7 separate regions of the Homo sapiens genome follow, and all the other regions are linked to region 7. The links are contacts of gene promoters, found by promoter capture Hi-C in blood cells and fetal thymus (Javierre and others, 2016). All regions are on one chromosome and are shown on one strand. The core of a region is centred on a gene start or on the middle of the fragment in contact, and the rest is flanking DNA. Distances in the headings are between cores, read along the strand shown.

Region 1 (3,774 bases), core at 317-2,816, 500 kb before region 7:
CGATATTTGCCCTTGGTGTAAATGCCTGAATTTAGTGTGCCAGAAAATTGTTATTTTTTGGAATTTAAAAGTATCTCTTCAACAGATAAGTACAATTTAGTATGTTGATAGGATTATCCTTCATAGATTCAGTTTTTCTTTTCATTGGGTAAGTGATGCGTATTCTCAGTAAACTAGGCTGAAAGTTTCTAAGTCCAGAATTGTGGTTCCAATAGGACTCTGAAGTTACAGATGTAGTATTCAAGTCATGCAAATGTATGTAAACTAAGGAAGTATGGTCTATAGGTAAAACACTTGGAGAAATGATAGTCAATTACATGAAGATTTTCTTTCCTTTTCTTTAAGCAGCCTTCAGGTTTAGAAGCTCAAGTTAGAGAAATAGTGTTTTAACCAAGAAAATCCCTTTGGCAAGACTCATATCTTGACAAAAGCATGTTGGTCTGCATACCACTTTGCATAAAAGATGTGTATTGCATTAACTATGGAGAAGAGAAGATTCCAGTGTATTTCAGCCTCTTTGCAGGATAAAGCAAAGCAAATCACGTAGCCATGCTGTGTGTCTCAAAGGGCTCTTGTGTGGGTATTTCAACTAGAAAGGAGATTAGCATTGGAAGTCTGTGATCATGTCATACATTTGTAATTGAAGGTGGCTGTTGAAAATAATTCTTTACATAACTGGATTCTAGCAGTCTTGATGAGGTAAGTAGAATCAATAGGAAATGATCTGTTTGTCACTGCTTAGCCACAATGCCAAAAAGCTTGGTATCTGGGAATGGAGACTTTAAAAAGCGTCAGCACTGGGAAGTATTTGATAATTCAAGTCTAAGAGGCTTCTTATGAAAAGTGCAGAAGGAATATATGCATGGGAATATATACCATTGAATTTTTGCCGATAACATTGTTTCTCGCCACAGTTAAAATTGAAACTTTGATCACTCTAGTAGCCACAGGTCATTTGATGATTTTTGCCAAACCGTAAACTTAGGCAACTTAAGTACCTGCCTCATGTAAACGGTCTTATATGTGAGCATGTTTTTCCTGTTATTTGTATTTCTATTCCTTGACATAAAGTTTTAGAACTTTTTGGGGGAAGTTCATGAACACTCATAGCTCTTTCTGGTAGATGAACATGACTCTTACTTCTGTGGATAAATTATAAATGTACTATAAAAATTCATCTGGAGTGGCAAGTGAAAAAGATACAGTATGATTTGCTGCCAAGAACATCTTATTACATCTGCATATTTATGCTGCTAATGAACGGATACTGCTAACAAGTCAGTTTCCGAAGATACGCAGCTTTGGCGAAACAACAAAGTGAACAGGAAATGTTTTTCTTAGAGGATTTTATTTGCTCATCCAAAGCAATAGAAAAACGTTAAATGATTGGTGGTAGATTTTATTTTCCTGGAGCACCTTGTACAGCCTGCAATTCAGTCGGTTATTGTGCTAAGGGATGGGTGCACTGACCTTGTCAAAAGAGGGAGCAAGGATTTCGTTTGACTTTGGTTTGTTGGTTCGCAATACTCATGGATATCTGGATCTCTAACCTTGGCTTTTTATAACTATAATCCTAGGCAGTCATTCACTATGAAAACACTTGTGCTTCTCTTTTTTTCTTTGTATTTGTTCATTTGAAAAGCCTTTCAAAAAGGAGTTGCAGCCTGCATGTGATTATAGCTATCAGTAGCACTTAACCTAACTGCTGAGATGAAACTTTTCTTTTTGGAACCTGCTAATTTTACATATCAATAGAAAAAAAATTTCTTGTACTGTTAAAAGGCCCGACTTTACTAATTGGTAGCTACTCTTTGGATTGAGCTAGAATCCTTAGGGACAGAATTTGATAGAATAATTTTTGACATTTTAATTTGACAAGAAACAATTCAGGGAAACGATTTTAGTCTTGGGCCTGAAGTGGAGTCTTCTCTTGCTGTTTGTGATACTTAGTGTGGGGAATGCCTTTGAAACAGCACTTTATAAACCCTGTGATCCATTTAATGTGATAGTTCAAGCTGCTTGGCTGTTTTTTTCATAGGAGCCTCACCTAAAATAGTCTAACACAGTGGAAAGATTTTTCTGTATTTTAGAGGGTAATGCAGTAAATTCTAATCTTTGTGAGAAAAACATAGCTTTCCAGAAGGACAATAAATTTAGGTGTAAAATGTGTGAATTGTATGCTCCTTTATCCTTTAATTGTATTATAGTCTACATCTTTCTAACTCAAAAAGTACTCTTTGTTTTAAAAATATCCCTTCCCACACTTGAAAATGGTAGAATAAGACTAATTTTAGTTACAGGTTCTTTGTGTGTTTGTGTGTATATCTCTATATAACAGAAAACTTACATTTTTAAATAATGAAGTTAAAGCTTTAAACAAGTAGAGTATATACACACATAAACATGCGTGCTAATTTGTTTCTGAAAAATTATCTTAGAAATCTGTGTTTCTCCAAGTATTTGGGGGGATATTTAAATAGCCAAACTAGAAATGAAATAGGTGTTTGAAAAAATATCTAGCTGGGCATGGTGGCTCACATCTGTAATCCCAACATTTTGGGAGGCCAAGGTGAGAGGATCACTTGAGCTCAGGAGTTTGAGACCAGCCTGGGCAACGTAGTGAGACCTTGTCTCTACTGAATATTTAAAAATTAGATGGACATGGTGGCACACGCCTGTAATCCCAGCTACTCAGGAGGCTGAGATGGGAGGATCACTTGAGCCCAAGAATACAAGGCTATAGTGAGCTGAGACTGCGCCACTGCACTCCAGCCTGGGCAGCAGAGTGAGACCCTGTCTTAAAAGAGAAAAAGGAAAAAGAAAAATATCTGGAGACAAACCTGGTTTCTAAGCCTGGGGAGTAGATTGGAAGAAAGGGAAAATATGACCTTTAGTTTCTTCTTTGCGTGTGTGTGTGTGTGTGTGTGTGTGTGTGTGTGTGTGTGTGTGTGTGTTTTGAGACGGAGTCTTGCTGTGTCCTCCAGGCTGGAGTGCAGTGGTGCAATCTCTGCTCACTGCCAGCTCCGCCTCCTGGGTTCACGCCATTCTCCTGCCTCAGCCTCCCGTGTAGCTGGGACTGCAGGCGCCCACCACCGCGCCCGGCTAATTTTTTGTATTTTTAGTAGAGATGGGGTTTCACTGTGTTAGCCAGGATGGTCTCGATCTCCTGACCTCATGATCCGCCCGCCTCGGCCTCTCAAAGTGCTGGGATTACAGGCGTGAGCCACCATGCCCTGCCTTGTGTGTGTGTTTCTAATACGTAAAATTTTGTTTTTTACTAGGTAAGGTTAGAAACTGATACTCTCAAATTTGCTCATAATAGTGACTTATTCTAGATGAGGAAAATGCATTGATTTTATTAACAATATATCCCTCGGAGATTAGGGTAGGTAGATGATTTGGAGAAGTAGGTTGCTTGATATCAATTAGTTATGTTGCTTCAGAACAAGCCATTATTAGTTTGTATCGTAAGTACTTTAGTGAAAGAAAAAATTTTAATGGATTTGGTGGTCATGTCAATTTGTGTACTAGCATGTATTCTCTTTCTCTGCACCTCCCTGCCCCCACCTCCCAACTCACCGTGCCCTGCAAACATTTTTCTGTCTGCTTTTTTTCTTTCTCTTCCTTTTTTCTTCTCTCATTTAAACATAGGGAAAATTGTCTAAGAATGCCTGTGACTGTAAATAATTCGTTTCATGAAGACTTATGACTTTAATCATTTTTACATTTATTTTAGTAAAAATCATTTATTATCTTTAGCAATTCACTGGGTAA
Region 2 (3,416 bases), core at 612-3,111, 340 kb before region 7:
TAGACTAGAGCTGAAAATGTGTTTCCACCTGCCTTCTATCTCTTAAGCTTCACAACAACTCTGATTTAAATATTCATGTTCTCTCCCAACAGGAGATGTACAATGTCAGACTGGCCCCAGGCCTGCTAATTGGCAAGGCCACAGTAAGTGTGTACCCCGGGGCACTGAGCTGTCCACCTGGGGTGATTTTATTTATTTATTTATTTTTGAGATGGACTCTCACTCTATCGCCCAGGCTGGAGTGCAGTGGCGCAATCTTGGCTCACTGCAACCTTCGCCTCCTGGGTTCAAGTGATTCTCCTGCCTCAGCCTCCCAAGTAGCTGGGACTACAGGCGCCCACCACCACGCTGGGTTAATTTTTTGTGTTTTTAGTAGAGATGGGGTTTTACCGTGTTAGCCAGGACGGTCCCGATCTCCTGACCTCGTGATCCACCTGCCTTGGCCTCCCAAAGTGTTGGGATTACAGGCGTGAGCCACCGCACCTGGCCAACCAGGGGTGATTTTAGTGCTCCAAGCACCAGCACCTGCTCTCGTTAGTCACACAGGAGGAAGACACACTGGAGGAAGGTGTGACCAACTTCAAGGCTGAAAACCAAATGGAAAGTAGAAGGAAGGAATGGATGATTCCTAAGGTTTCTGTGGTGAACATGGATGTGAGCCATTCAGTGTTCCAGGGGCTGGCTTTCTTACCACGCAGGCCTGGATTGCAGCTAGCTCTGTCCTTTAGACCTCTGCCCCTGTGATGAGGAAAGGAAATTGCCTTTCAATGACTAATGTGAAAGGAAAATAAAATCTCAGGATCCCAAACTCACTATATCAAAGGGAAAGTTAAGCTTGGGAACTGAGTCATGCAAAAAGCTACCTTCCTTCTGTTCCCAAACAGCTGTAGTTTTATATGTTTACTTTATCTCATGTAGAATGTAGATCTACTGAGCAAGATAGGAATGCATGCTTGACTTCCCCACCACTCCGTTCTTCTCACATGTAAAATGTAGCTTTACTGAGTGCCAATCAGAGCCTCACAAGAATGTGACCACTTGCCTCATTGCCTGCCCTCTCGCCTTTTTTTCCTTTCCTCCTCCACTTCCTTCTCCCTCTCCTCTTTAAATATCAAAGTCCTCAAAACCCTCTTTGGAAAAAGCGCAGGACACAGATCCTACTGGGACCCATGTGTCTCTTTCCTGGGTGCATCCTCAACCTTGGCCAAATCAGCCTCTAAATCAATTGACATCTGCCTCAGTCACTTTTTGGTTGACACTAATAAACTCATGTTTAGGTACCTTGGCTCCAGATCATTTTATTTCCTACCTCACAAGGACAAAATCCCAATTTAAAACAAATGCTCAGCTTACCAAACAGAAAAGGAAAACAGTAGAAGATAAGAAAACAAAACAAAAAAGCATGCTCTGGGCCATCTTTGTTCTATTATCATATTTTTGGTCTTCTAAATGAAGCATCTTTACATGCAAATCCATTTTTGTGTATTTTGACTGATTGCTGGCAAGGTAGAGAGAAATAAATATTTCTGGAAATGGGCATGGCATAAACATATCATTAGCAGGGCTGCAGCTTTGTGTGTGTGTGTGTGTGTGTGTGTGTGTGTGTGTGTGTGTGTGTGTGCATGTGGTTTGAAAAGATGTTTATGGTGAGTTCAGTCAACAGACCCTCCTATCTTCTCTGTGATCATGTCTTTAAGGACCTGGGAGCACCAGGCCTGGGGAGGATAGATGGGAAATGTTCTTGGAGCTTAAGGAACATTCCAGATCTTAGGCATTGATTAAGCTAGAAACCCACCATCTGCACACTTGCTCATAGCCCTTCTGATCATATTTCTTAATTTTTAAATGTCTGAAGCGTGTTTAGGTGTCCCCCATGACGCCGATGTTGCTTTAAAAATTCCAGCTGTTGCAGAGCTCTTCTCAAGGATGTTACTAGGCAACTTAGCGACTGCAAGGGGGAAGGTGTTTCTGACCTCCAATTCCAGTAGAGCCCAGGCCTGTAAAATACATGTAAACAGGCAGTTGTGACTTTTTCTTTTCCTTTTTAAAAATCAGACTTAGTCACATTGAGGTCCTGCTCCAAGGCAGGAGGATTGAGTGTAAAGATGTTAGCAGCTGAGTTGAGATGGGAGTGTTTTCACGTCTGGGATATATTGCTTTGTCTAACAAGGTGCCCCAGCAGGCTTCCAATTGTGGTCTCCCCAGACCCTCCCAGCTGCACAGGCTGATTGACAGACTGTGGGCAGATGCGGTGCCAGACTCCAATAAAGAGAGGGCCTTGGGAAAATATAAGGCAATTATTGATGGGCAGCAATCCACTAATCAGACAATTTCAAAATTAATCCCATATTCCCTTACTGTATTAGCTTTCTTTCTTGTTTGTATTTATATAGCAAATTCATGACTTCAGTGAAAATTCTTCCCTCCAGCCCAATTATATCTCTCTGAGGACATTAAATTAAAAAACAAGAGATATTGAAAGTGGCTTGCAATTAGTTTCTTTAGTTAAAGGTGCTGCATGCACTTAGCAACTGTGGCGCTCATCACAGGATGCATAATAATAAAAGTAAACACACGTATTTTTTCCTGGGCTTGACAGGGTGAGGGGTTGATAAGAATAATATGCCTGGCATTACTCTGGACCAGTGATAATGGGTTAAATAATTGTGATTTGATTTGTTAACTGATTAGATTTGCATAAAATCCTACTCCAAACTCCTCAGGATGCTCTGCCTTCCTTCTTGCTGTGGTCCATCCTCCCGCCTTCCCTTGCCTCATTAAGAATGTACATTTTTTTTTACAATAAAGTCATTCAGAGAAAACGCGATCAGTTTCTATCACAGGTTTCCCATGCAGGATAACCTTCCAAGTAGTGGTATGAAGCTTTTAAATATACATAAATACATTTCAAATATTTTGCCAGTTACTTATTATGGAAGTGAATCTCTTTATTACCATTTCCATCCTCATTTCATCTCCCTTCCCTGTCCCCTGGTTTTTGTAAGTTTTTTGTTCTGTTTTGTTTTATTGACCTGAAACAGCTGGAATTCTCTTTTTGTTCACTGCAACAATTGCTTCTGCAGAATGCTTCCCGATTGCATAAATTTGCCACTTAAACTGAGGAACGTCAAGCATCACTACAATTTGGAGGAATTATAAATGGCCAGAAGCTCATTTTGGCCTGAAGACTGTGGTTGTTGAGTTCTGCCTGATCGTCCAGCTTTGGCAGTCTCTCCCCCCATAACCCCTACAAGTTCAGTATGTTGCCATCTGCCCCATATAGAAGTATATCCCAAGAAAAAAAGGACAAGCCCATTATCTTTGCATCCATTGAATCTGACGAGTTCTGAAGGAGGTCAGCTTCTATTTCAATGAAGTACTGGTGAGTTGAAGAAGAGAGCATTGGGATTTTAGGC
Region 3 (3,331 bases), core at 134-2,633, 450 kb before region 7:
TGAATTAAATGAAATTAATTTAATCGCTACTACAAACAGAAATTAAACGTGCCCTAATCCAGAGTTACGTTGTTTGCTTTTACAACTGTAAGTCATAAGTAATTAATTTTCCTTGGAAAATTAATTCACTTAGCATTCCCAGTAGCATCATATGTTGACACAGGGTTATAGATAGTTTAATATTTTTCTTCAGCATGCTGGCCTCAACTTTAGAAGACCTTAAATGAAAACAAATTAAAATTTACTCAACTGTATGTAATTTGGGGCTATTTAAAATAAGTGTTGTTGTTATTGATAGCATCCAGGTGATGACTCGAAAATTATACTCAAACTTTACAAAATGCCCATTATGTATTAGCAAGTCTGAAACAATATATTTTTTAACATTGGTTATATGACAGTAGCCATTAATATTTTCTGTCCCTCAATTCTGAATAAACATTTGACATGAGAACCATCTAACAGCAGTAGCATGGAAAGTTTTTTTTACCATCACTTAACTGTCAAGAAAACAAAAGGGTTAACTTACTTGCTGGACATTTGACCACCTGGGATAGCAGGCCATCCTGTCTGATTCTTACAGAGCTTATTTTCAGTCTCTCACCTCGGTCAGCAGAAAAATTTCTATCAAGGTCATCTTAAAACATAGAATATATTGATTGCCGTTTTCTAATTGTTTCATTCTTTCCTGTTTAATACTTTTTTTCCCCTTACTTTCCAGAAAGGCCAGTGTGGAAAATGAAATAAGCAGAAGTCTTTCAGTTAAACAAGCTTTCCCCCACTGCTTTTTATATTCTGGGGACTCAGAAAATATGAGCAAACCAAATTTAGCTTTTCTTTTGCATTTGCCAGGAGGTTATTTAGTAAGGTGATTTTTTTTTTCTGGTTCACAGAACTCTATAAAACATATAGTGTTTATTACTTTATGTATATTTATTTAAGTCACTAAGGTGAAACTGTAGTGATGGTGGCAATGTTACAGTTTTAACAAGTGGGGCTTATTTTATAAATGTGTCTTTGTGGCAATAGCTTTCAAAAATGCACAGGGTTAGCAGTGACATGCTCTTTTGGAAAGAAAATTTGCTGTTTAATTCCAGGGTAAAAGTACTACTAGAACACAAAATCACCACTGTTATTTTTTTATTTTTTATTTTTTGGTTACTATTTATTGTTAAAGTCAACTTTAAAAAAATCTGTACTCGCAGGATTTAACTAACTACATACATTGCAAAGTTGTGTCAGGGAGAAAATGTTTGCTTGTTATCCCTATCAGAAGGGGGGTGACAGGGAAGTCCCCTTCCCTATGCTTCAGAGGGTTTCCCTCTGAGTGGCCTTCAGAGTTAGGATAATGGCTTTCCTCTTTATCATCATCAGACAAAATGAAAAGATTACACATGTCAAGTTACGCACATTTATGTTTTTGCTCTGACCTAAATATAGATTGTTGTACAGTCAGGTTTAAGGGAAAGCAGTCTTTCAAAAATAATTTAGGCAGCCCAGGTGATGATTATTCTAAAAACTCTATTCCTAAATCTACTATCACATACCTGCAATACGATTACATATAAATACGTATGATAATGCTGCATACATTCTTACACAGTTTTTAAAAAATGCTTCTGCCTTCTTTCTGAAATGAACTGGTTTACTTTATTCTGGTTTTGAAGTGGAAAAGTAAATTCACCCTTATAGAAATTTACTAATATTAATCTGCATTTAATTTCAGAATATATTCTCTTAAAAATTAAATTTAAATGAAAAGAGTTTGTCATGTCCTTCATTAACTTTTGTGTCAAAATGAATATCTTAGAAAAACATTTTATAGCAAACTAAGAAGTGTAGAGGAATTGTGTGTGTGGTGGGTGTACACAAGGAGATTTTAAGAGTGTGGAGAAAAGAGATGCTAAATTTGAGCTACATAATATTTACCCAAAACTGGCAAAGGAAAACTTTGTTAAAATATATAAAAATTATGGATTCAAGAAACAAAGCTTGGAGAAGTAAAATTTTTTACTTCTTACTTTCTGTGATTATTCTGTTGATTCAAATTAGAATAGAAACAAGATTTTGTGATAGAAATATGAATGTGCTTTTTAAAAATTTATAATGTTAAGATATAACAATGTTCATAATTTGCTGAATGATTGTGACACATGAAAAACCGTGCTGTTTGTGAGAAGTAGACAAACAAATGTTCGTGCATTGTAAGAACTCTGAGGAACTTAGAGCAGACTATCGCTTGAGTTTGGTCAATAAGACTTTATTTTTTACCTGCAAGCAGAGTGTAAGTAATCATAATTATTCCTAAATTGCTCCCTAAAGTGTGGTAAAAGTGGGGTTTGCAAACTGCTGATATTTGTTGGACAATTAGATTGATGTTTTATAACATGTTACTATTCAATGGAGTCCTTCACAGTGCCGTTGGGTGGAAAAGTAAATTTGTACCTAAAGAAATGTACAACTATTAATTTGTATTATATTCCACACTGTTCTTTCAAAACACTAAATTTAAATAAGTTTACACTTCTACTCACAAAGGGAATAATTAAATTAAGGTGATATATAGAAAGATAAAATGGCAATTTACCACCACCTGAGATTGACAAAACTCTCCCAGGTCTTTCAAAGTGAATCATGCTCCCAGTCATTATCTCACAGTACCACGATCTTACACATTGACAATGGGGTAAATTGGATTACATTTTTGCTTTTACTAGAAATTCAAATAAAATCTTAGGCAAGATAGGGAATACCACATTGTAATATCCTGCTTTTATGCTTCTGTTAGGGCTGTACATTAGTCTTTGGCTAATAGATCCTGCTAGATAACGCTTTTTCCTTTTGTAGCACCATTCATAGTTTGAGGCTGTCTTCAATCTGACCTGTAAGAACTCTGCTTCGAAAGACTGTGTATATAAGAATGTTGGAATAATTTAATACTCACATTTTGATAGGTTTAAAATGAACTGGAGATTTATGTTAATTGCAGTGGACGAATTGCCACATTTGTCCTACTAAAGTTGCTTATCAGAAGAGGAAAATGAGCAGAAGAATCTTTAAAAAGAATGTTTTGTCTCCAAATTATTTTATATTTGTATGTTAACCCAGAACTTTTTCTCTAGTCTCTCTCTGTATATATTAGAGGAGTAATTTCTGAGTTTTGTTTTTCATCAGATTTGCAGTGAAGATTAAAAACAAAAACAGAAAGAACCTCTTTGCAATAAACATCACTACCACATTTAAGTTTGTAATTTTTATAAGAAAGGAACACTAGTTAGAAGCTATTTTTTTTTGAGTTTTAATATTTACCAAATTTATAGGAACTCTCAAC
Region 4 (3,434 bases), core at 286-2,785, 480 kb before region 7:
TCCCATCTCAATTTGGCAAAATATAATAATGATAATAACATTCCTTATGGTCAGAATGAATAGTCACTGTAAGAAAAGTTTTTTGAAAACCTAGTTTTAAACGGTTCATCAACATACAATCTGTCATGGTAGAAAAGACTTGTAAACTGTAGAGATATCAATTCTGTTATTTAAACGTATATCTTTTATACAGAAAACAAATTATATTGATTAATGATTAGCTTTTTGTAAGTAACACCATTGAATTTTACCTAAGATAAAACTTAGCATTTTTGTACTGGGCGTAGTGGCTCACGCCTGTGATCCCAGCCCTTTGGGAGGCTGAGGCAGGTGGATCACCCGAGGTTGGGAGTTCTGATCAGCCTGACCAACACGGCAAAACCCCGTCTCTATTAAAAATACAAAAATTAGCTGGGCATGATGGTGGGCACCTATAATCCTAGCTACTCGGGAGGCTGAGGCAGGAGAATCTCTTGAACCTGGGAGGCGGAGGTAATAGTGAGCCGAGATTGCGCCATTGCATTCCAGCCTGGGCGACAGAGTGAGACTCTGTCTCAAAAAAATAAATTAATTAAATAAAGCAGCATTTTTAACTCAATAGGGTTTTTGTTAAAAAATTTGAAAGTGAATGCGTTGATATTGTAGGTACTTTACTTGCTTTTTACTTTATAAGTGTGTGGTTTGTTTCCTTAAAATAAAAATCCTAAAAATAGTGCTTAAATAAAATATCTTAAATTATCAATTTAATTATAGAGAATTGGCATATTAACTTTTAGATCTGGTAAAATGTAAATTCAATGCTAGCTTCTGAAGTGTACTTTCTTATATCTAAAGCTTGAAATACTAATGTATTGGTTTAGGTGAAGGTCTAAACTATAGCAATTTGAAGGGCCTTCTGAGTACTGTAATAATCTATAAATAATTAGTTGAATTACAACTGTGGCAGTTAAAATCCCCCCAGATGATAAATTCTGCTCAGTCATCTGCTTCATGGCAAAATACATAAAATAATCAAATTGCTAGGATTTTGAGGCTAATTTGTTTGTACTGCTGAGAAATTTGTTTTGTGAAATGTAATATTAAATCGTTAGATATATGAATTTTATATAAAGTTCATTTTTGCTTTCTTCAAAATATATTAGAGATAATTGGAATAATTTCCCAATAGTTTATTGGAAAATTTCCCATCAAACAGAAAGTGTTTTCGTAAATTTAGTGTACTTTTGGCAAGTGTCTATTCTTGAACTCTTAAATAGGAATGAAAAAGGGAGGGTATTAAAACTTTTGTTCTTAGCAATGTCTGGAAAAAAATCATCACTCCCAGTTTGATTTGTTTCATTAATTCTAGTCACATATACTTCTTCAGTCCTTACATGTTTTATATTGAAGTAATCAATGTTGAGGTTTTTCTGTGCATTTAGGTTATTTAAGATTTCTGATCTATGCTGAGCACTGAACTGTGTATTAGACACATACTCTTCAGTAAGTAAAGCATATGAAATTTACTACATTTTGTATTGATTTAATATTAATGTTAATCCACAATCTTTGGGTGCAATGTGTCACATCTGTTTTGTATTCCTCTGTTTAAAAGAAATGGCAGTATGGTATTTGGAGGAATATTTATTATCTGAGTGTTTTTCTTTGCAATAGTTTCCCTCAGTCTATTGAAAATTATAACCTCCAAAAGCCCAGCAAATTCTCAGGTACCCAGTTGCTAACAACCACAGTTAATTGGAATTTTTATTTACCATTTAAGTTCCTTTTATTTAAATAGTTGTAACTTTGGAGGCTTCTGGAAATGATAGAAAATAAATCTGTGGTGAGATTTACAAAAATATTCTTTTCTCTTAATAATAGGTCTAGCCTGTACTTCATGGATACTCTGTCTTTTTAGAAAAGACTTTGTTAGATTGAATGTTGATTTGTATTTAAAAATGAATTTTCCATAGGTGGTGGCTAAATATTCTTATCCTGTAGTAGTGTTTCTTAACCTTTTTGGGGGTCACGAATTTAAGTAATCAATGAATGCTAGAACCAGCTTTCCTTGGGGGAAAATTTATATAAACACAAACATTTTACATGCAGTTCTGATTAATCCTGCCTCTTCCTGCCCAATAGTCCAAGGGCCCCTGGTTAGGAAATGCCACTATAATGGAACTGAAAAAATCACTTCTTAATTTAGTTTTAACATCACATTATTATGTAACACTACATTTTCTTCACTACAAGCTTTATTTAACATTACATTTTCTCCTTGATCATTATATTATTAGAAGATAAGCGTAATGTAAATGTTATTTTGGAGAAAATGCAGTATTACCTTTTAATTTTGAAGCTGGTCTCTGAAGTTATGGAACGTATTTGACTCCTGTATGTCCTCAAGTTCTGCTTTAGATAAGTAAACAATTCACTTTACCTTTTGATCAAAGAAAAAGGCAAAGGAAGAGAGATACGAGTTCTTCTAGATCTTTTGTTTGAGAAAGTAGCTCTTCCTTAGAAAAATATGTTGCGTTGGTTGTTTGGCACAAAAATATGAGTTCTCATTTTATTGAGAGTTTGAGAAACTATTTAAGGGTTACCTGGTTGTGCTGGTTAAGGGCTCAGACTTGGAAATCAAGCAGGTTAGGGTCCAAATCTAACTCAGTTCCTTTCCAGCTATATGATCTTGGGCATACTACTTATCCCCAAAATGGAACCTACTCCATTAAATGAGATAATGTCTGTAAAGTGTTTTTTTGCTTTGTGTATAATATGCACTCAGCTGTTATTGTATCATGATGATGGTGATGATGAAAAACAGGATAAGCAGCCTTGCTTTTCAGTTGTAGTGTTTATTTTTTTCTATTTAAATTTAAGAGAGTAGATCTTGGTTGCAGAAAGAGAAGTTGTCACATTCCCCAGAATAATCTTCTCAAGTTGTGGTGGCTTACATTTGTCATAAAAATTTATTCAAGAATTCTCCAAAGATGGGGATAGCAAACTAACTTTTCCACATTTTACTTCTCAATGTTCAGTTGTTACAGTGGGGCAGTACGTTACATGTCATCCATTAAATTTGCCTCATGCAATTGAAGTAAATACTGAGGAGCAGAGAAAGGGAGAGGTTGCTAAGAGTGAATTAAAAAGTGAGCCCTAACATGTTTCTGGTTTTGAATATTGACACCTACATGGTCACATGGTATAGAGCCACATGTATTGTGTATACTTAGAGTAGATGATGTTTCTTTGCCTGTCATGTCATAAAGGAGAACTCTAATGTAAAAATTTTTCATAAGCTGTACAAAATGGCAATCCCCATACAAATGTCAGCTGTAAGACAGTATTCTCATTGTGGGTTGTATGGTATTTGGAGCCAAAGAAGAAAGGAAGAGAATGAAAGAGAATGATTTGTGTGACTATTTGATTAAATAAATGATGAAAGGAATTAACAC
Region 5 (3,887 bases), core at 1,237-3,736, 410 kb before region 7:
GTTGCTAATAGAATTTAAATAAGGTTAACATGGAAAAGAGCTGTTTCCCACCACGTGAGAGTAGAGATTTTTCACTAGTTAAGCCTCTTGCATGCATCTGTCAAACCTGGCAGTAACCAAAAGATAAATTCTGAGGGTTCAAGGTATGGTTACCATATTTTTACCCTGATTCCACAAGAAACCTGTCAAAATTTTTATCATACTATAATCGCATGTTATATAATCTTCTTTTCCCCCATGGTTTTAGAAGAGCTGCTTTTTTGTTCACAGTTTTGCATTTATTACACAAGTCTGCTAATGCAGCATGAAATTCCCTGATCTGGACCGTTTTCACTGAAACAGGTATAGCAGAAACTGTCCCTTACATTTTAAGTTGTTGATTTTCTAACACATCTACAAACATTTCATAATTTCATATATGGAATTTTATAATAGAGTTGAGATTCTCTGAAATAATCTTTTGACACCAAGCAAACTACCTAATGATATAGTCTTTGTATATAATTTATACTAACCATGACAATTATAGATAAGGGCCTTTCTGTAGTTCAGCTCTATATTACTGAGAACAGGCTAACACACAAAAAAGGTAGTACAACACAGTTGTAGCTATTATAACTTCTTCTAACTCACTTTGTATGTATGCTGAAAAAAATAGGCAAAATTATTACTTTATCCAGAAACATAAGGAATGTGAATAGTATAGAAAAACTAAGGAACATTTTTTTCTTGCATCAGTGTTAGCCTTCTTACCAGCATCTTTATGACAGCTGTTGGTTTTGTCATTATTTTTTTATTCTGTTGTCCTTCTTTCCTCTTGCACAACTCTTTTTTTCTCCGTTTTTTTTTTGTTTTTTTTTTTAAACTCCCTTTTGGATTAACTTAACTTAGCCGTATGAGGATATGTCATTGCAGTCGTTTTTATGATCCAAATGTTTTATATCATTGTCTTTTCAGATGAGATCTTTTTTTCAGTTTGCTTATTTTTTTTTTCTAGGCATATTGCAGGACTCAATGCCAACAGGGCCAAAAATATTATTGAATGGCGAGAGAAAAATGGACCCTTTATCAACCGAGAACAGCTGAAGAAAGTGAAAGGGCTGGGCCCAAAATCCTTCCAACAGTGTGCTGGCTTCATCAGAATCAACCAGGATTATATCCGAACGTTTTGCAGGTGAGTATAAGTATACACTTTGATTCTATTGTCAACCTCCTCTCTTGTTACTGTTACCTATCCTACCACTGATTAGTGTAAAATTTTCTAAGTGTCCATTGTTCATGCCTTCATTCAGTTAAGTGTTGAGTGACTGTCCTTTGGTAGGCATTGGGAATACAACAGTGAGCAAGTCAGCAAATTCCGGATTCTCATGGAGTTATATTTTAACATGTGACACAGACAATAAGCAAACTAGTAAAATTAGTACTTTCAGATGGCAAGAAGTGCTATAAAAATTAAAGCAGGGATATGTGACACTGTCTTAGGAGAGTAATACAACTACTTTAGATTCGTTATTTTTTGAAAACTTATTTGAGCAGAGTTTTGAATGAAATGCCATCCAAGGATCAGAAAGAGAGCATTCCAGGCAAAGTGAACACTAAGTGTGCACAGTCCTAAGGCAGGACCAACTTTGGTGTATTCAGGAAATGAGGCAAAGGCCCACACAATTAGGGCATAGCAAATGGGAAGGACTGGTACAAGATGAGGTGACAATGGTGACTTCAAAATGACCACTTTATACTGACATAGCTGTTCCCTAAGCATAGATATGTTTCCCCACTCCCTCCTCACTGAAAATGGACCAAAGCATTGATTATCAGTTGTGTGGATCAAGAGCTAAATTTCTTTATTTTCTAATCCTGAAAGCACAAAAGCTTGTTAGATAAACTTCTTAGCATGATATAATCATGAAAGAAGAACATTTACGTATCTGCTACTTTGGGACTACGTGGTTAATTCATATGGACTTTATAATTTTGACAAAATTATAATAGAGGTCATATGGAAGATAACCTTTCTTCTGGAAAAGACTGATTAAGCCTCACTAGAATACATTATAAAGCTGTGGAAATTAAACAGTTTGCTTTTGATGTAGGAATAGCACAGAATAAGGTCTGAAATCCACCAAAACATGGTTAGAATTTAGTTTGTGGTAAAGGTGACATTTCAAATGGTAGGGTAAAATTGATTAATTATCTAACAAATGATATTATGACAACTGCCAGTAATTCAATATGTGTGAAGGAAGCTGTAGTCCCACTTCTCACTCCTATACCCAGATAAATTACAGATTTATCATAGACTTAAATGTCAAAAAAAGTAAAAAACTGTAAAAGCACCAGAAGAAAACATGGGGAAATCTTGCAGAGCATTAGAGTGATGGAAATTCTTTCTAAATAGATCATGAAACCTAGAAGTCACAATTGAAAAAAATTGAAGATAAAATGATTCTGTTTTTGTTAGTTTATATGTTCTTTGAACACTTGGTTAGAAAACTCACAGCATAGGCCAGGAGCCGTCGTTCACCTGAGGCCAGGAGTTTGTGACCAGCCTGGCTAACATGGTGAAACCCCGTCTCTACTAAAAATACAAAAATTAGCTGAGCATGGTGGTGCTCACCTGTAATCCCAGCTACCCAGGAGGCTGAGACAGGAGAATTGCCTGAACCCAGGAGGTGGAGGTTGCAGTGAGCCGAGATCATGCCGCTGCACTCCAGCCTGGGCGACAGAACAAGATCCTATCTGTCTCAAAAACAAGCAAACCAAAAAAACACCAAAAAACTCACAGTATAAAAAAAGAACAAAAAGTAAAAGATGCCTCTCAAGTCTCACTTGAAAAAGTTTCTTATATGTTGCTTCCAGAAAGTAAATTTACAGTTATGTCACCTTGTATGTATATGTTTATTATTTTAAAAATGTATACACAAGGGATCAGGCTCTGCAACTATTTGAAACTTGCTTTATTTGTTTCAGTCTTCTGGATCTCTTTCCAAATTATTACATATAGATTTCTAATTTTTTATTCTTTATATTGTCTGCATAAAATTTAATTGTATGGATGGGCTGTAATTTAGTCTAATCAGTGTCTTATTGATGAAGCTTATTTTAAAGCCTTGTACTTTTCCAGCTGATAATTAGGTACTTGAAGATTTGTGACTGTTACATCTCATGAACTATAGGTTTATTCAGAATGGAATATTGCTACCACATTTAATGTTTTTTGCTTTGAAATTTATTTGCTAGCAATGTTACTGTATATGCCTGTTTTTTTTAATTTTTATACTTTCTATGACATTTAATTTTTGATATGGCTCTTAGAAACACATAGCTAGATTTTGTGGTTTTACTCAATCTGTTATTAATACATTCATATTTGTTGTATTTATTTATATGTTTGGGCTTATTCTTCCTACGTATTTTGCCCCTCCATCATGCTTTCTGATTCTTCTTTTCCTTTTACGCTATTTATTAGATTTATCAGTTAATAAGTTTTCTGTTTCTCTCCTTGTTTTCCCATCTCATCTTTATCTCTCCTTAGTGATTTCAAAGTTGTACATCTTCTATTCTTATGATCATCCTTAAATTGGTTTTGGACTGACCTCTGGAGTTAATAGGTGTCTGTCCTCTTAGAGAAGACTAGAAACAGGATCCTTCCCAATCTTTCTCTCTTCAACTCTCTCTGCCTCCCATGATAAGATGATCTGGGATTTTAGTTTCAGACTCCTCTCCTCTCCTCTCCTCTCCTCTCCTCTCCTCTCCTCTCCTCTCCTCTCCTCTCCTCTCCTCTCCTCTCGTCTCCTCTCGTCTCCTCTCCTCTCCTCTCCTCTCCTCTCCTCTCCTCTCCTCTCCTCTCCCGTCCCCTCCCCTCCCCTCCCCTCCCCTCCCCTCCC
Region 6 (3,545 bases), core at 241-2,740, 380 kb before region 7:
GGCAAAAAATGCTGTAACTGCAGGTATCCTGTACTGGATTTTTCACATCCATCTTCATTTTTCTGTCATAGTGTCGATTGTTCCATTATCCCAGTTGCATTGTAGACTCAGAGCAAAGATCAACACTCAAATTATATGGTCCAATTAAACTACCAAGTTGTTGAGCAAAAAGACAGATGCATCTGGGCTCTGGACTGAGCTTTCCACTTACTGCAGTGTTCTATCAGTGTGGCAAGTGAAGTTTTAAATAGGTCTCTTTAAAAAAACTTTGGAACTGACCTTTGCTCTAATGTAAGTCACAATTTTCAAAATGTCTGAGAACTTTCATCTTACTACTAAACACATACCCAAGGTGAGGAAGGCTTACAAACTATACTTTCGAGGGGGCAGATAGTATTTTGGGCATTTCCACGTGATGATATTTTATGTTACATCTCTTTTCTCCATTTTCTCAAAAGTATTTCCTTTCTTAATGCCTCATTCTTTACTCATAATAATTCTGTCTTTTGTTTTGTCAATGGTGTAATTAATTTCATGTGTATTAACACTATGGTGACTAGTTAATTTCCCTAACTGGGTTTATTAGAAGCAGTCCAGACACAGGGGCTGAAAATGCTTGGCTATGAAAGTGTTAAAGTTTGCATGGTACACAGAGGATTTTCTGATTTCTCAGTGTCCCCAACTGTCTTCAGGAATATGTTAAGTAGTTCCTGACTCTGATTTTCCTTGCAAGATTAAACTAAACAGCTGATCAGGAACCCTTAGGGAATCTGCAGCAGCTGGACCTCCCCAAGAAAAGAGAGAGAGAGAAAGAATTTCCAAGCATAAAAACAATGCCTATGGGGTCTCGGAGACCCGTCCTACCTCTGCCCCTGATCAGTGACTTAGTTCCACTTTGCTTTGACACAGCCTTAGCCTGGTGTAATATTACATTACAGTAGGTTTCTTGCTTTTGGAATTCACTGCTTTAGCATCAGGTAAAATTCCACAGAATCAATTCCAATTTTAGCGTACTCATTTTTATGTGTACAGTGAGATTTGGAGTTTAAAGAAGGTTTTTATTTTGTTTTATAAGAAAAAGCTTAATTTTTAAAACGTCTTGGTATCAGTATGGTTGGACTGGGGGAAGGGAAGAAAGGGGTGACCAGTTGTTAATACAAATGTAAAGGATAGCTTTAACAAGTCATCAGGATAAAGCCAACAGCTGTGGAGGAAAAGGAAATGGAATGGGTGGAGGGGAAAATGAGGCCTTAGTAAAAGGAGATCCAAGCATAGAATGTGTTCTTTGTTATTAGAGTCAACACTCAGTAATCCTAGGAAAGGGGGCCTTCAGGAGGAGCATGGATAAATGGAGTCCACAGATAATCCACAGCCCCGTTTAAACTGTTAGTTCTAACTCTAACTGTCTCCCTCATAAAAACCTTTGTTTTTAACTAGAACCATAATGATTCCTTGGCATGCTTTATGCCTACCTTTTGGACAATAATGAACAAAGAAATGTATGCTGGGGTGAGCAAGAAAAAAGGGCTATAAAGAACTTGGAAACAGAAATCTGTATCTTCATCATTGTTTCTCTAGCACCCAGCAGAGTGCCTGGCCAGGAGATAATAGAGTTAACAAATGTTTGATGAATTTAATTGAAAGAAGAGAAAGAATATTAGATACTACCTGGTCTGGGATTCTGAGCCATAGATAATCAAGAATCCATAAATGTTGATTGGATAAATATATATGAAATAGGTGGGAATTGATTTTCTGAGTTCCAAATTTGTGGGAAGAAGTGAGGAAGAAAGAACATTTGAATTTCATCCACATTTGGCCAAAAGTTGATGTACTTTCTACCATCTTTAAACAATTTAATAATCCAGGCACTGGGGGAAAAACCAAAAAAAAAGCTTCCAGTCTCTTGTTTCCAAAGGTCTTACTTTCTCAGTGTTTGTGGTTTAGCTTTGTATATTTGTTAAGCAAATATATATTCTCATCACCTCTTCACAAAGAGGAAAATAAGACTGTCTTCTCGATCCTTATGTATAATGCTAGTGTGTAGCATTGTAGAAGGAAGTAAATTTTCTTGAATTGTTTCTACTGCATGAATGCTGTCTCCAACTGATATGCATGTTCTCTGAAGGCAAGCGTTGGTCTGCAGCTCCTTTTATAATCCCCCCTTAATCTTTAATATTGGTCTGGGCACATAGTATGTAGTAAGTACTTATTCACAAAGTTATGTTGTATCTAGGAAGTACAATGCCTTATTTACACTTACTTTTTTTCTCTTACAGATTTTGATAAACCTGATTTCAAGAGAAGCATAGTATGCCTGGAAGATCTGCAGATTGGGACAGTTCTTACAGGCAAAGTTGAGAATGCCACTCTCTTTGGAATTTTTGTGGATATAGGAGTGGGGAAATCTGGGCTGATTCCCATACGAAATGTAACAGAAGCAAAACTTTCAAAAACAAAGAAGAGAAGAAGCCTTGGACTGGGCCCCGGAGAAAGAGTGGAAGTCCAAGTACTCAACATTGACATCCCCCGATCTAGGATTACTCTGGACCTCATTCGGGTGTTATGAGTATCCCACGAAGGCCAGACGCTGATTTTATTTTCTCATTTCCACAGATTGACAAGGATAAGTCAGTTGTTTGTAAACTCTAGGTAGCAGATGAGAAATAATTCACTTAATATCAGAAATATTTTCCAAACACTTTCCTTTATTTTTTCTTCTGAATAAATAGAAAACCAACAGTTTGATTTCCTTTTCCCTTAAAGGAAACAACTAATACACATTCTTATATGGCTTTATGTAGTAATAGTTTTCTGACTAAAATTTTGTTTTTTATTTTTTGTAATTTATCTTTAACTCCTTTTGCATTTTGTATAACAGATTGCTTAACTTCTACTTGCCAACATCTGCCTTGCTGGACTTGTATGGGATTGTCTTCTTGATTTGAATTGTACCGTCTTTGTTGACACAGTAGGGCTGGGCAGTGTTTAATCCTTCCATTTTATAGATTTTTTTTTAATCAGGCCTTTTGGACTTCATTCATAATTTTGCAATAATCTCTTTTCCCTTGTCATGCAAGCCAAAAATATACCAGTAAAACAGATTCTGACGTGTTTGTAGTTATCAAATGAATGGCTCGAAACACTTCTCAAAAGGATATACGTATTGACCCCAACAATAAATGTTTGTGGCTAGTGACTTGTTTTTTGCTATGTTGATTCAGTGAATGACCTAGAAGTCAGTCTTGATGAAAAAAGATATGGTTTATGCAACCTTTGGAGAAGAGGGAAGCCTTTGAAAATTTGAAGAATGGTTTTGTTTGATTTAGCATAGAAGAGTGTGTCCTTTCTTAAATCAGAATTAAACTTCAAATGGGGATAGAAATGGCCGTTTTAAAGATCAAATATAGATCAGGTGTGAAGGGACAAGAAAAACAAGTATATAAAGGAAGTGACTCTTATTCCATTTTTATTTAGTGGAGATGGTAAGGATTAGCATGACCATTCAGGATCAAAATAAAGCCCACAGTGGACTGGTATCCTGT
Region 7 (3,504 bases), core at 857-3,356:
ACGTGCTGAAAAGAGTACGTTGCACTTTTGTTGGAGGTCAGCAAATTGGGCTTTGAACCTCATCACAGTCTGCGGTAAATTCTTCTCCATGTCTCCCAGGGTCCTTAGATCCAACTCTGGGGCAGCCCCTGTGCAGCAGTGCATAGGACTCTGGATAGGGTGGCCTGGACACAGCAGACCTCCTCCCAGCCCACAGATACAGACTCTAAAGATGCCACCTGGATTTCTGCAGAAAGCTTCCCCTTTCTGCACCCGCACTGGCTTGGGACCTACTTTGTCAGCCCTGTGGCCTCATTCAACATGCCAGGGTAGGCCCCTGGAAGCTAAAGTCTTAAGAGGAGTCCCAGGGTTCCATTCTCTCATGCCTACAACACTCCCAAAGGACTTCCGGAATGCTGCAGCACAGGGAAAATTTTTGAAATCTTGCAGAGAAGGAAATAAACACAAAGGCATAAATATATGCCTTACCATAGACACCAAGCAAAACCAAAAGTTGAACCCAGGGCTCTAGACTCCCATTCCGCGCTCCTAGCACAAACTCCATAGAAAGCATAAAAGGGTGGGAAAGAAGGAACTGGCCTAGACTCGGGTTCCATAGCCCTAGACTGGCTGAGGGCAGAGCCCAGGATTTGTGCTGGCTTGGGTCAGGCACTGAGTATGGCCCTAGGAGCTCCTGGCCTGCAGCAGCTGAGGGGGGAAGAGGAGGAAACTGAAGGAAGTGGAAAGGACATGTCCGGGAAGGAGCTAAGCCCCGGGCTTTTCAAAACGTAGAGCAAGAACACACCCATCCTCAGTTCTCCCACCTTTGTGCGAGCCCTTCTCCCACAGGACCAGCACCACATGTTTCCATTGGCACCCTGACAAAGAAGCAAAAAACAGGACCCCCTTTTAAAGCACCTCATCCCGGAGCTCAGCGAGCCGGTTCCCAGGCTGGAGTGGCCAGGAGCCGAGCCGATCCCCAGCGGCGAAGCGGGAGGACTGGGAATCTTGCCTCCGTTCTCCTCCCCGACCACCCACCGGGGAAGCCCCACCACCGTCCTAGAGTCCCTGCCGTCGCCCCTCTCCCCCGCCCCGGTGGGCAGACTGCGGGTCTGCGCCGTCCGGGGTTCTGCGTCGCAGCTGCCGGCCGGAGTCAGCTTCCATAGAGGCCACACGGAACTGCCTGGCGCTCCTCGGGCTGTGGGACCCGTGGGGTTAAGTCTGAGTCCCCGCCCGGCGAGGAGCAGAGAGCGCAGAGTTGGGGCGGTACAGGCCGCCAGGCAGCCGGCGGGGCTAGGAGAGGGAGGAAAGGCGGGATCCTCCGGGAAGTCGATTCTCCGGCGTCCGCCTGCGGCCACTGCCAAATCTTCCCCATTTCTTTCGTCTACTCCCTCCCCTTTTCCCTCGAGGACCGCTGAGTCCAGAGTTTCTAGGATGGGGGTGGGGCGCTGTCAGCAGAAAAAGCCAAGTCTTTGGGCGGCACCCGAGCACGTCCAAACTCTCCCATCCCACTGGCCTGCGCCGGGGTAGAATGTGCCCGGTGAACAGAGAGCCTGGGAGGGACGCGGTGACCTGGGGAGAAGGGGAACCCTGTAGGGTCTGGGCGAGGCTGCAGAGCCCTCTCCTAGCCAAAGCTGCCCAAACTTTCTTCCCCTGGAGTCTCCTTCCACCCCTCTCCCTCCCCTTCCTCCTGGACACCCCCTTAAACGGTCTCCGCCTTCCCTTCTCTCCTCTTCTCTCCCCACCTCGATCCACCCCTTTTCGTCTTCGCCCGCTCCCCCCGCTCTCCTGTCCTCCTCCTCCCTCCCTCTTTGGGCATCCGCCCCGTCAATCTCCGCCGCCGCCGGCCCCAACCCGGCCCCTCTCCGCCTCCCAGGCTCTCAGAGCGCCCCAGGCTCCAGTAGAGCCGCCCTCAGTTCTGCGCGGAGCGGGGCGATCTGTCAGCGGAGCCGGCCGGGGGGAGCCGCCCGGCCCGCCGAGGCTCGGGTTACCAGTGACTGACAGCGTCTCCATGGCGAATAATTTGACTCCGACTATTGTCTGGCGCTGGCAGGCCCCGGGTCAGATAACCGGACCAATCAGGGCGCGGGCCGCCGCGCCTCATGCCCGCTTAGAATAATATTATTAAGAAAGCTGAGAGCCAGCTAGACGGGAGGGAGAACGAGTGAGAAGCGAGCGAGGGAACGGCGGGCGGGCGCGGAGCATGCGGAGCGGCGCCCCGGGCGGCCCCCGGGCTTGGGCGAGGGCTTGGGCCAGGCGCGCGGGCCGTTGGGGTTCGGAGCTTCGTGGGACCCGCGGCCGGCGCGGGGACGTACGGCAGTGACTCGGGGCTCACCGGGGGCCAGTGCCGGGCCAGGGGGCCAGCCCCGCCCGCGTCTCGGCCCGGACGGCCCGGCGAGGAAGCTCCCATGCGGGACCGCGCGGCCCGGTGAGGGCGCGCGCGGGCGGGCGGGGACGCAGCCGGCACCATGTCCATGCTGCCCACCTTCGGCTTCACGCAGGAGCAAGTGGCGTGCGTGTGCGAGGTGCTGCAGCAGGGCGGCAACATCGAGCGGCTGGGCCGCTTCCTGTGGTCGCTGCCCGCCTGCGAGCACCTTCACAAGAATGAAAGCGTGCTCAAGGCCAAGGCCGTGGTGGCCTTCCACCGCGGCAACTTCCGCGAGCTCTACAAGATCCTGGAGAGCCACCAGTTCTCGCCGCACAACCACGCCAAGCTGCAGCAGCTGTGGCTCAAGGCACACTACATCGAGGCGGAGAAGCTGCGCGGCCGACCCCTGGGCGCCGTGGGCAAATACCGCGTGCGCCGCAAATTCCCGCTGCCGCGCTCCATCTGGGACGGCGAGGAGACCAGCTACTGCTTCAAGGAAAAGAGTCGCAGCGTGCTGCGCGAGTGGTACGCGCACAACCCCTACCCTTCACCCCGCGAGAAGCGTGAGCTGGCGGAGGCCACGGGCCTCACCACCACACAGGTCAGCAACTGGTTCAAGAACCGGCGGCAGCGCGACCGGGCGGCCGAGGCCAAGGAAAGGTACGAGTAAGTAGACCTTCTTCGGCGCCAGCTCCCCGGGGCCCAAGGGAGGGGTTCGCAGGGCTTCTGCCGGTCCCCCGGAGAGGCCTAAACTGGGCCCCCAGGCCCGGCCACAGCCCAGCGGCAGCCCGGCCTGACTTGGACGATGCTTAGGCCTTTCTATGCCGGAGACCCGGCGAGCAGGGATTTGTCTAAAGCGGGCAGAGCAATTCAGGAAGTTGTCAACTAACTACTCGGTCGCTAGAGGAAAAGGGTGGAGAAGCAGAGAGCTTCGGGGCAGCGCAGAACTGTGGGCCTGTATCCCCTGTGAGGCAGGCACAGTAGGTCTGGTCATCCTCAGGACAGAGGGGTTTGAGCCCAGATGAAAGGGGATTTGCAGATTTCTTGCTGGTGGTGCTTCCCGGCATTTCCCCCCAGCCTTAGCTCCAGGCCAAAGTGTGATGGGGTCGGGACTGGGGCTGGAACTTCCCTAGAATGACCTGGATGGGGAAAAGCCA

What was found. Contacts are between HindIII fragments. The CHiCAGO score rates a contact against its expected background, and 5 or more counts as called.
Region 1: a fragment that was not itself captured here is called in contact with the fragment with the promoter of SIX2 in region 7 in 7 of 17 cell types (endothelial precursors, M0 macrophages, erythroblasts and 4 more); the score reaches 11.9 in endothelial precursors.
Region 2: a fragment that was not itself captured here is called in contact with the fragment with the promoter of SIX2 in region 7 in 1 of 17 cell types (endothelial precursors); the score reaches 5.2 in endothelial precursors.
Region 3: a fragment that was not itself captured here is called in contact with the fragment with the promoter of SIX2 in region 7 in 5 of 17 cell types (endothelial precursors, megakaryocytes, erythroblasts and 2 more); the score reaches 9.2 in endothelial precursors.
Region 4: a fragment that was not itself captured here is called in contact with the fragment with the promoter of SIX2 in region 7 in 9 of 17 cell types (endothelial precursors, fetal thymus, M1 macrophages and 6 more); the score reaches 17.8 in endothelial precursors.
Region 5: a fragment that was not itself captured here is called in contact with the fragment with the promoter of SIX2 in region 7 in 1 of 17 cell types (M0 macrophages); the score reaches 5.6 in M0 macrophages.
Region 6: a fragment that was not itself captured here is called in contact with the fragment with the promoter of SIX2 in region 7 in 1 of 17 cell types (megakaryocytes); the score reaches 5.7 in megakaryocytes.

The regions. Positions count from the first base shown.
Region 1 is chr2:45,508,779-45,512,552 of GRCh38, reverse strand. The region is part of intron 14 of SRBD1 (S1 RNA binding domain 1); the gene reads left to right. Among named protein-coding and RNA genes, the nearest start is that of SRBD1, 100 kb to the left of the region's middle. RefSeq lists a silencer at 1,289-1,583. The HindIII fragment of the contact is 1,612 bases long and covers 761-2,372 here.
Region 2 is chr2:45,351,475-45,354,890 of GRCh38, reverse strand. No RefSeq gene overlaps it. Among named protein-coding and RNA genes, the nearest start is that of LINC01121, 98 kb to the right of the region's middle. The HindIII fragment of the contact is 2,049 bases long and covers 837-2,885 here.
Region 3 is chr2:45,453,580-45,456,910 of GRCh38, reverse strand. All of the region lies in intron 16 of SRBD1 (S1 RNA binding domain 1), which reads left to right. Among named protein-coding and RNA genes, the nearest start is that of SRBD1, 160 kb to the left of the region's middle. The HindIII fragment of the contact is 1,220 bases long and covers 774-1,993 here.
Region 4 is chr2:45,488,962-45,492,395 of GRCh38, reverse strand. All of the region lies in intron 14 of SRBD1 (S1 RNA binding domain 1), which reads left to right. Among named protein-coding and RNA genes, the nearest start is that of SRBD1, 120 kb to the left of the region's middle. The HindIII fragment of the contact is 1,398 bases long and covers 837-2,234 here.
Region 5 is chr2:45,415,652-45,419,538 of GRCh38, reverse strand. It overlaps SRBD1 (S1 RNA binding domain 1), which reads left to right. Exons shown (of 21, transcript NM_018079.5): 18 at 998-1,174. Among named protein-coding and RNA genes, the nearest start is that of LINC01121, 160 kb to the right of the region's middle. The HindIII fragment of the contact is 1,224 bases long and covers 1,875-3,098 here.
Region 6 is chr2:45,388,334-45,391,878 of GRCh38, reverse strand. SRBD1 (S1 RNA binding domain 1) reads left to right here. Exons shown (of 21, transcript NM_018079.5): 21 at 2,280-3,199. The coding sequence ends at 2,569. Among named protein-coding and RNA genes, the nearest start is that of LINC01121, 140 kb to the right of the region's middle. The HindIII fragment of the contact is 814 bases long and covers 1,084-1,897 here.
Region 7 is chr2:45,008,054-45,011,557 of GRCh38, reverse strand. SIX2 (SIX homeobox 2) reads left to right here and starts at 2,106. Exons shown (of 2, transcript NM_016932.5): 1 at 2,106-3,007. The coding sequence starts at 2,448. RefSeq lists enhancers at 1,034-1,633, 2,638-3,411. The HindIII fragment of the contact is 4,145 bases long and covers 239-3,504 here.